Linked DNA regions of Homo sapiens: regions 1 and 3 are each linked to region 2. Evidence: promoter capture Hi-C in human tissues and cell types (Jung and others, 2019). All regions are on one chromosome and are shown on one strand. The core of a region is centred on a gene start or on the middle of the fragment in contact, and the rest is flanking DNA. Distances in the headings are between cores, read along the strand shown.

Region 1 (2,701 bases), core at 107-2,606, 160 kb before region 2:
GGATCAACTTTTCCATTTATGTAAAAAAGGCTTGAGGCCAGTGTTTTAATAGAGGCCCTAAGTCTTTTATGCTCAAAGGCCTTCCTCTTGGCATACTGTGAGATCTTACTGTTGGCCGACCACTTTACTAAGCAGCCCAGTGATCAATGTAGGTAACAATTTGAAATCAACACTGACTGGTTAGCCATCCCTGAAAGTGAAATTTGGATATTGCCCAAAAGGTTCAATAGAATTAGTTCTATGATTTTAGCCAAGCCCTGCTTCTAAATATACTTCCTTTAAAGTACATATTTGAAAAAATCTTGATACTAACAGATAATTACAAAGTGCAGCATTGACAGGGAACCTGAAAACTGAGTCTTTTTCTTGCAGGCAAGGAAACTAAAGTCTAAAAGTACCAGTATCAGTCCATGGCCTGTTAGGAACCAGGCGACACAGCAGGAGGGGAGCAAGTGAAGCTTCATCCTGTATTTACAGCTGCTCCCCATTGCTGGCATTAACACCTGAGCTCCACCTCCTGTCAGATCAGTGGCAGCAGTAGATTCTCATAGGAGTATGAACCCTATTGTGAGCTCCACATGCAAGGGATCTAGGTTGCACACTCCTTATGAGAATCTAATGCCTGATGATCACTGTCTCCCATCACCCACAGATGGGACTGTCTAGTTGTAGGAAAACAAGCTCAGGGCATCCACTCATTCTGTATTATGGTGAGTTGTATAATTATTTCATTATATATTACAATGCAATAATAATAGAAACAAAGTGCACAATAAATGTAACGCACTTGAATCATCTTCCCGAAACCATCCCCCACCCTGTCCATGGAAAAATTGTCTTCCACAAAACCTGTCCCTGGTGCCAAAAGGGTTGGGGACCACTCCTTTAAAATATTGATTTGAACTCTCATGAGGATGACTTTTTTGATTTGAACACTCTCATCAGGATGACTTTTTTCCAAGCTAATAAACCGAATTTGTAACTCAAGCATAAGATATAGTTCTTGAGATTCATTAGAGAACCAAATTTAACTAAAATCGGACAATGACTTTTATAAGTTATGAAGTGGACAGACATGAAATGCAGAGCAATTGGGATGTGAAAATACCTAGCTTTTCTCTATCAAAAAACTATTCTGCTTTTTTGTGAAACAGATTGTGTTCTTAACTTTCAGAAATGCCCTTATGTTTAATTACAATGTCACTAGTTTTCCAGTCATGAGTAACTCATCTTCATGGAGGCCCCCACAGTAGCAGAATTTGAGGCATTGTTAATCATTATGTTTGTAAATTTAATTCCATGCTAGTCTCATAATTCTTACTCATCAGATGAAGATGAAGATGATGATAATAGCAAACACCTATGTAGTGCTTACCATGGCCAGGGACAGTTTTTATATACTGTGCAAATGCAAAGTGTTCCAGAATTCCAAACCTTTTGAGAGCTGACAGTGGTCAAAGGAAATGCTCTTTGGAGCGTTTTGAATTTTCGGATTTAGGATGCTGAAGCAGTAAGTATATAATGCAAATGTTCCAAAATCTGAAAAGATAAAAAATCTGAAACACTTTTGGGCCCAAGCATTTTGAAAAAGGGACCCACAATCTGTAAAGAGAGAAAGAGAATAACATGTGCATATATATATATTAAAATAAACATGTATAAAATATGTATGTAATATTCTCAGCAACCCCAAGAGAGTGGAGGTTATTATCAGTATTTTACAGATGAGGAAACTAGGCACAGAACAGGTATAAACCTTTTCCTGGGTAACACAGTTACTAAGTGGAGCAGAGATTCAAACCCACATGATTTGAAATCCTCCAGGGCCCACACTCTTGATCATAAAGTTTTACAACTTGTCGAGGGCAAGGTCATTGTTCTTTGCATTCTTAGGAATCTTAGAATAAATAATGAGAATTATTAGCTGAGCAGTTACTGAGTAACGGAGGCTGGAGCATCTTTCCAGGCCAAAGAGGAGGGACAAAGGGCACATATCGGAGTAGGAAGAAACATTTATTTCTTTTTCCCTTGTGTATGTTTATAGAATAGAGAACCTCAGTTTGGGCTATTGCTATTTTTCTAATACTACCAAGCACAGGGATATTTAAAAAAAAAAAAAAAAAAAAAAAAAACCTGGTCGAGGAATCCTAAAAACCTAGTCGAGGGGTCTTAGGGATGACATAGGGTTATAGCCTCAATCTATCACTTATTAACCATGGAACTCAGCAAGTTGCCTCGCCATCAGTTTTCTCCTCCATAATATAGAGGAGAGGGGAAAGGAAGGGCTATGATGATCACATGAAATTATAATTAATACCACATAAATTATATAAAACTATGCAGTTGTCAACCTTTCATTATAACTTATGATTCAACTTAAAATATGTGATCCTTATGGCCTTAATTAAGCTTAGTTTCCCACAAAAGTATGTGTGTTTAAGTAGAAGGCAATATTTGTGGTTTTTAATCATACTTAGCTGCTTGAGTGCTTAAATTGTCATCTCTTAAGAATTTCCTGTCACATGATTAAGTTTAGGTTCCATGATCCCAGCTGAAAGATTTCCTTGTTTTTTGGTCCAAACTAGCAGGAGCACTAAATGGCTAAGGTGATATTTGAGGTCTGGAGCTAATAATGTAAATTATCTTGTTAGGATGTTAAATACTGAAAATATTCCTTAGTTTCCACAAACACTGATTGCTT
Region 2 (2,789 bases), core at 147-2,646:
GCAGTCCTAGCTATTTGGGAGGCTGAAGTGGGAGGATCACTTGAGCCTGGGAGGTTGAGGTTGCAGAGAGCTGTGATTGTGTCTCTGTACTCTACCCTAGGCAATGGAGCAAGACTCTGTCTCCAAAAAAAAAAAAAAAAAATTTATCTTTGAATTCTTTCTTTCAATATATTGTTATCTGTATTTCTGTACTGAGTGCTGTGCTTCTTGACCTGTCTCTGCCCTTTTCTGTGTATTTATTTATTTAATTGACAAGTAAAAATTGTATATATTATGGTATACAAATACAGCTTGATGTTTTAATTTATGTATACATTGTGGAATTATTAAGTCAAGCTATTTGACTTAATTGCCCCATATACTTGTCATTTTTTGGGGGTGATAAAGACACTTAACATCTACTGTCTTAGCAATTTTCGATACACGATATATTGTTATTAACTATAGATAGCATGCTGTACAATGGGAGCTCTTAAACTTATTCCTCCTGGGCCAGGCGCAGTGTCTCACGCCTATAATCCCAGCACATTGGGAGGCCAAGGTGGGCGGATCACTTGAGGTCAGGAATTCAAGACCAGCCTCACCAACATGGTGAAACCCCATCTCTACTGAAAATACAAAAATTAGCCAGGCTTAGTGGTGGGCGCTTGTAATCTCAGCTACTTGGGAGGCTGAGGCAGAAGCTTGAACCAGGGAGGTGGAGGTTGCAGTGAGCTGAGATGATGCCACTGCACTCCAGCCTGGGTGACAGAGCAAGACTCTGTCTCAAAAAAAAAAAAGAAAAAAAGAAATGCTGTGAGGAATTATTAGCCATGAAGCTTCAGCAGGCAGGTTAGGTAGCTTTTCCAGTCACATACTGGTGAAGTAAGGATTTGAACCCCAAGACTCTGGTGCCAGAGTAATTGCTCTTCACCATGAGGAGGCACCAGTGGGGGAGTGTTGGATCACAAGCAGTTTCTTTTTCTTTTTTTTTTGTTTTTTTGAGACGGAATCTGGCTCTGTCACCTAGTCTGGAGGGCAGCGGCGAGCTCAGCTCACTACAACCTCTGCCTCTCAGGTTCAAGCGTTCTCCTGCTTCAGCCTCACGAGTAGCTGGAATTACAGGCGCCCGCCACCATGCCTGGCTAATTTTTATATTTTTAGTAGAGATGGGGTTTCGCCACGTTGACCAGGCTGGTCTCAAACTCCTGACCGCAAGTGATCCACCCACCTCAGCCTCTCAAAGTGCTGGGATTAGAGGCATGAGCCACTGCACCCAGCGCAATTTCGTTAGAGACTTGGTGCCTTCCCATTTCTTTTACTCAGCAATATACCAGCTTTAGGTCCTAAATTAAACCTCTTCCTGCTTTCCCACCTGATGAAGAAACGTGCCTGCAGTGTGGTGAGTCTGGACCACGCAGACTCAGAACAGCACTACTCACAGCAGGGCCTCTTGCTCGCTCTAGCTGCTGGGAGGAAAACGGCTTGCTAATCTCCACGCCCAGAAATTCAGACAAGAGCATTCTCCTTATCTCATCTGCACAGGAAGCAGGTCTAAGGTAAAAGATTATTTTTGTGGAAGATTCTTGCTTTTCAGTCTAGTGGTTGAAGTGTGAGCCTGGCAGGCGTTGGATTAGAGAGGGCAACAAGAGTGGAGGTTGTGAGGTGGGGGGTTGCCTTGGGGCTTCCACTCTAAAATGTGGCCTTACCTTGGCCACAAAGGGGTCGGGGGGGTGGGGGAGAGAGAGAGAGAGAGAGAGAGGGAGAGAGCAGCCTGATCATAGCTCGGAGCGTAGAGGTTCTGGTAAGTTCCTTGCCCTAAAGAACACTTAGTTCATTCTGGCTCCTTTCCTGGTGACCATCCTGGCTTCCTGCTTGGCCTTCACCTCACCTTGAGAAATTCAAGTTTCATGTTCTTGTCCAGGCCAAAGACCCAGAAGAACCTTCAAGGTGAGGCTTGGCCCCTTAGATCCACGCCGTGATTTCGCTTCTTTTTCCTGAAGCCTGCACAGATGCCAGTGTAAGCCCACTCCCAGGAAGTCACAGCAGTGGTCTATGCTCCTCCTCTTCACACTGGCCAGTGCTGGGCATGCCTGGACAATCAGCCCTGGAATGGCTGCTCTCAGCCTACAGAAGAAGAGAGGGAAGAGGGATGGAGGGGCTGGGGAGAAGTTGGTGAGAGGACACAAAATTTGGGTTAGACAGAGAAATAAAGTTTTTTTTGTTTTTTGTTTTTTTCTGAGATGGAGTTTCACTCTGTCACCCAGGCTGGAGTGCAGTGGTGTGATCTCAGCTCACTGCAACCTCCACCTCCCACTTGGCTTCCCAAAGTGCTGCGATTACAGGCATGAGCCACCGCTCCCCAGCCTCCTCATGGGATTTTTGAGGATGACATAAAGGAATACATTTAAACTGCCTAGAAGGGTGCTTGGCCCAGAGTATGTGCTAATTAACGTTGGCTACTATTATTTTCCTTCAACCCAGTGCCGGTGCAGGTCTAGAGGAAAGCATGAGGTGATACAGGGGCACCCAGAGGCGGAGTGCTCCCAGGAGCTGAGGGGCATCGGAGGCTTCCCTGGAGGACTGGCACCTGAGCAGAGGAATGGGCAGCACAGTGGCAGTGCCACGTGTGCGGCACAGATGGTGCAGAGGGGATGGGTGGGCACACTGCGGGGAGTTTAGATTTAGCCAGGGGATGGCAGGGCCTGTCCAGGAGGTTAAGTGAGGAGCTCAGGTGTGCCTCCCAGCAGGCAGGGGAGGCTAATTTTGAAGAAGAGCAAAGTAGGTGCAGGAGGTGAGTTGGGATCTCA
Region 3 (2,700 bases), core at 145-2,644, 200 kb after region 2:
CCTGGGTATGGTGGTGCGCATGCCTGTAGTCCCAGCTACTCGGGAGGCTGAGGCAGTAGAATCTCTTGAACCTGGGAGGTGGAGGTTGGAGCGAGCCGAGATCGCGCCACTGCACTCCAGCCTGGGCGACAGAGCGAGACTCCGTCTCAAAAAAAAAAAAAAAGAAAGAAAGGTGTGTGAGATGCTCTCATATTTTATAAAATAACAGAAGAGCATATGAATTCGCCTCATGTTGCTCTGAGGTAGAAAGAAAAGTGAGAGTGCGTTAGAAACCAAGGGAAAAAAATGGAAAATAATTATTTACTTTTTCTAAGGCTGAAATGATAGATTTGACCATTGTATAACACGGTGACTATTGTTAATAACAATGTGTTGTATTATTGCAAACTGCTGAGAGCAAATTTTAAGTTTCTTACCACAGAAAAATAAGTATTTGAGGTAATGTACATGTTAATTAGCTCAATTTAACCACTGTACATTGTGTACGTATTTCAAAACTTCATGTTGTACATGATAAAAATACATCATTTTTGTTAATTAAAAAATGTTCATTTATTATAAGGCATATCAACTATAAATGTACAATAAATAATAAAAGACTTATGCCAGGCAAGTTAAAATTTTGGAATAAGATAGTCACAGTTAATTTGTACTTTAAACTTTTATGTATTATCAAGCTGAATCTGAAGTACTAAATTTTAGCAAAACTACAATTTTGCTACATATTGAGTACATTTGGATCTTTAAATTCATGTCATAAGTAAAGCTAATTCTGTATTTTATTTGTGTTGACTAGCTAATTGATTACCAGTTTAAAAAGAAAATTTAGAATAGGTATTCTTTAGGCCTGCACTATCCAGTAAGGTAGCCAGCAGCTCCATGTGGCTGTTGAGCACTTGAAGTTTTGCTAATCCAAACTCAAATGTGCTGTTAAGTGTAAAATACACTCTGGATGTTGCAGACTATGTAAACTATCTCATTAATAATTTTACTTTTTAAATGTGGCTACTAGAAAATGTAAAAGTACAAATATGGTTTGTGTTACATTTTTATTGGACACCATTGGTCTAGGCTATCCCATAGTCCAGGCAGTATGTGATGAGGGCCTGAACTAGGAATGTTAAGACATTGAGAATAGAGAGACAGATTTGGATATATTTTGAGAAAAGTCTGTAGCACTTCGTAATTTTATATATGGTTAAGGGGATCTCAGAGATAACTATAGGATTTTTAATTTGGATAATAAGAAGATGGTAATATCATTAACCAAGAAAGGAAATGTGAGAAGGAGAGGGGGAACAGATTGTAACCATTGTTATTTTACTGACACATATCTTCACGAATTCGTTGAAACTTGATGTAATGTTATAAGATAGTGATGTTTAAGAGTATTCTCCCCTGTTCCCTCGTATCTACCCACCCTTCTCCAGGATTTGAACTCAGAGGATCAAAAAGCCTTCAGTGTTGAACATACAAGCTGCAATGAGGAAGAAAATTTCGCAAATATGAAAAAGAAGGCCAAAATAGGCATTCATCACAAAAATAGTCCCCCCAAAGTCACTGTTCCAACTAGTGGAAATACTATAGAGTCTCCTCTTCATGAAAACATCTCTAATTCAACATCATTTAAAGATGAGAAAATCATGGAGACTGATAGTGAACCAGAGGAAGGTGAAATTACAGACTCTCAGACTGAGGATAGTTATGACGAAGCCATTACCAGTGAAGGCAATGTAACTGCAGAAGATAGTGAGGATGAAGGTGAGTAAATAATCATTATTTAAGTAAATAGCCCAGTCTGGTAACTATAAAAGAGCAAAACCATTAAAAATGTTAGTGAGTTGTAGTATATCTGCCAGAAAGTAAACATTATTTTAATGATGTTATTGAAAATGTTGTGGGTTGCCACTTGGTTATTCTTAGAGAGTAGGATGTGAATAAATGACTAATACTTAGACCTTCAGAAGGTTTCATTGTATTGAATGGCATAGTCAGTAGAATACAAAGCCAGGTTACCTGGATTCTAATCTTAAAATATAGATTAAGGCTGTTTTAGTGGGTTAGATATTTGTAGTCTACTTTTGTAACTGAGAGAGAAAAACAAGTTGTCTTTAAAAAGTATACATTATGAATTCAGCTACATGGATATTATGGTAAATCTAATTTTTTTTTACTTGAATATATAAAGACATACTTTTAAAACACAGGATTTCATATTACAGTTGGCCTTCTGTATCCATGGGTTCTACTTTAGTGGATTCAAGCAACCTCAGATCAAAAATATTCAGGGAAAAAAATGGATAGCTACATCTGTACTGAACATGTACACACTTTTTTTCTTGTTATTGTCCCCTAAATATGGTGTACCTATTTATATAGCATTTACATTGTATTAGGTGTAAGTAATCTAGAGATGATTTAAGTTATACAGAAGGATGCACATAAGTTATATGCAAATACGATACAATTTATATAAGGACTTGAACATCCATAGATTTTGGCATATGAGGAGGGATCTTGGAACTAATCCCCCACAGATACCGAGGGCCAACTGTGTAGTATATGAGCTTACTTTGTTCTTTGGTTCTCAATGGCATTTCTCTTGCATTTTTTTTGAGACAGAGCCTTGCTCTATTGCCCAGGCTGGAGTGCAGTGGCGCAGTCTCGGCTTACTGTAACCTCCGCCTCCTGGGTTCAAGT

The links. Contacts are between HindIII fragments. The study calls those that stand out against the background at their distance.
Region 1: a fragment that was not itself captured here is called in contact with the fragment with the promoter of S100Z in region 2 in 3 of the 25 tissues and cell types used here (H1 embryonic stem cells, IMR-90 fibroblasts and small bowel).
Region 3: a fragment that was not itself captured here is called in contact with the fragment with the promoter of S100Z in region 2 in 1 of the 25 tissues and cell types used here (spleen).

The regions. Positions count from the first base shown.
Region 1 is chr5:76,687,125-76,689,825 of GRCh38, forward strand. The region is part of intron 30 of IQGAP2 (IQ motif containing GTPase activating protein 2); the gene reads left to right. Among named protein-coding and RNA genes, the nearest start is that of NCRUPAR, 24 kb to the right of the region's middle. The HindIII fragment of the contact is 4,029 bases long and covers 1-2,701 here.
Region 2 is chr5:76,848,618-76,851,406 of GRCh38, forward strand. S100Z (S100 calcium binding protein Z) reads left to right here and starts at 1,397. Exons shown (of 5, transcript NM_130772.4): 1 at 1,397-1,538. The HindIII fragment of the contact is 8,325 bases long and covers 1-2,789 here.
Region 3 is chr5:77,044,917-77,047,616 of GRCh38, forward strand. AGGF1 (angiogenic factor with G-patch and FHA domains 1) reads left to right here. Exons shown (of 14, transcript NM_018046.5): 6 at 1,431-1,761. Among named protein-coding and RNA genes, the nearest start is that of AGGF1, 16 kb to the left of the region's middle. The HindIII fragment of the contact is 7,047 bases long and covers 1-2,700 here.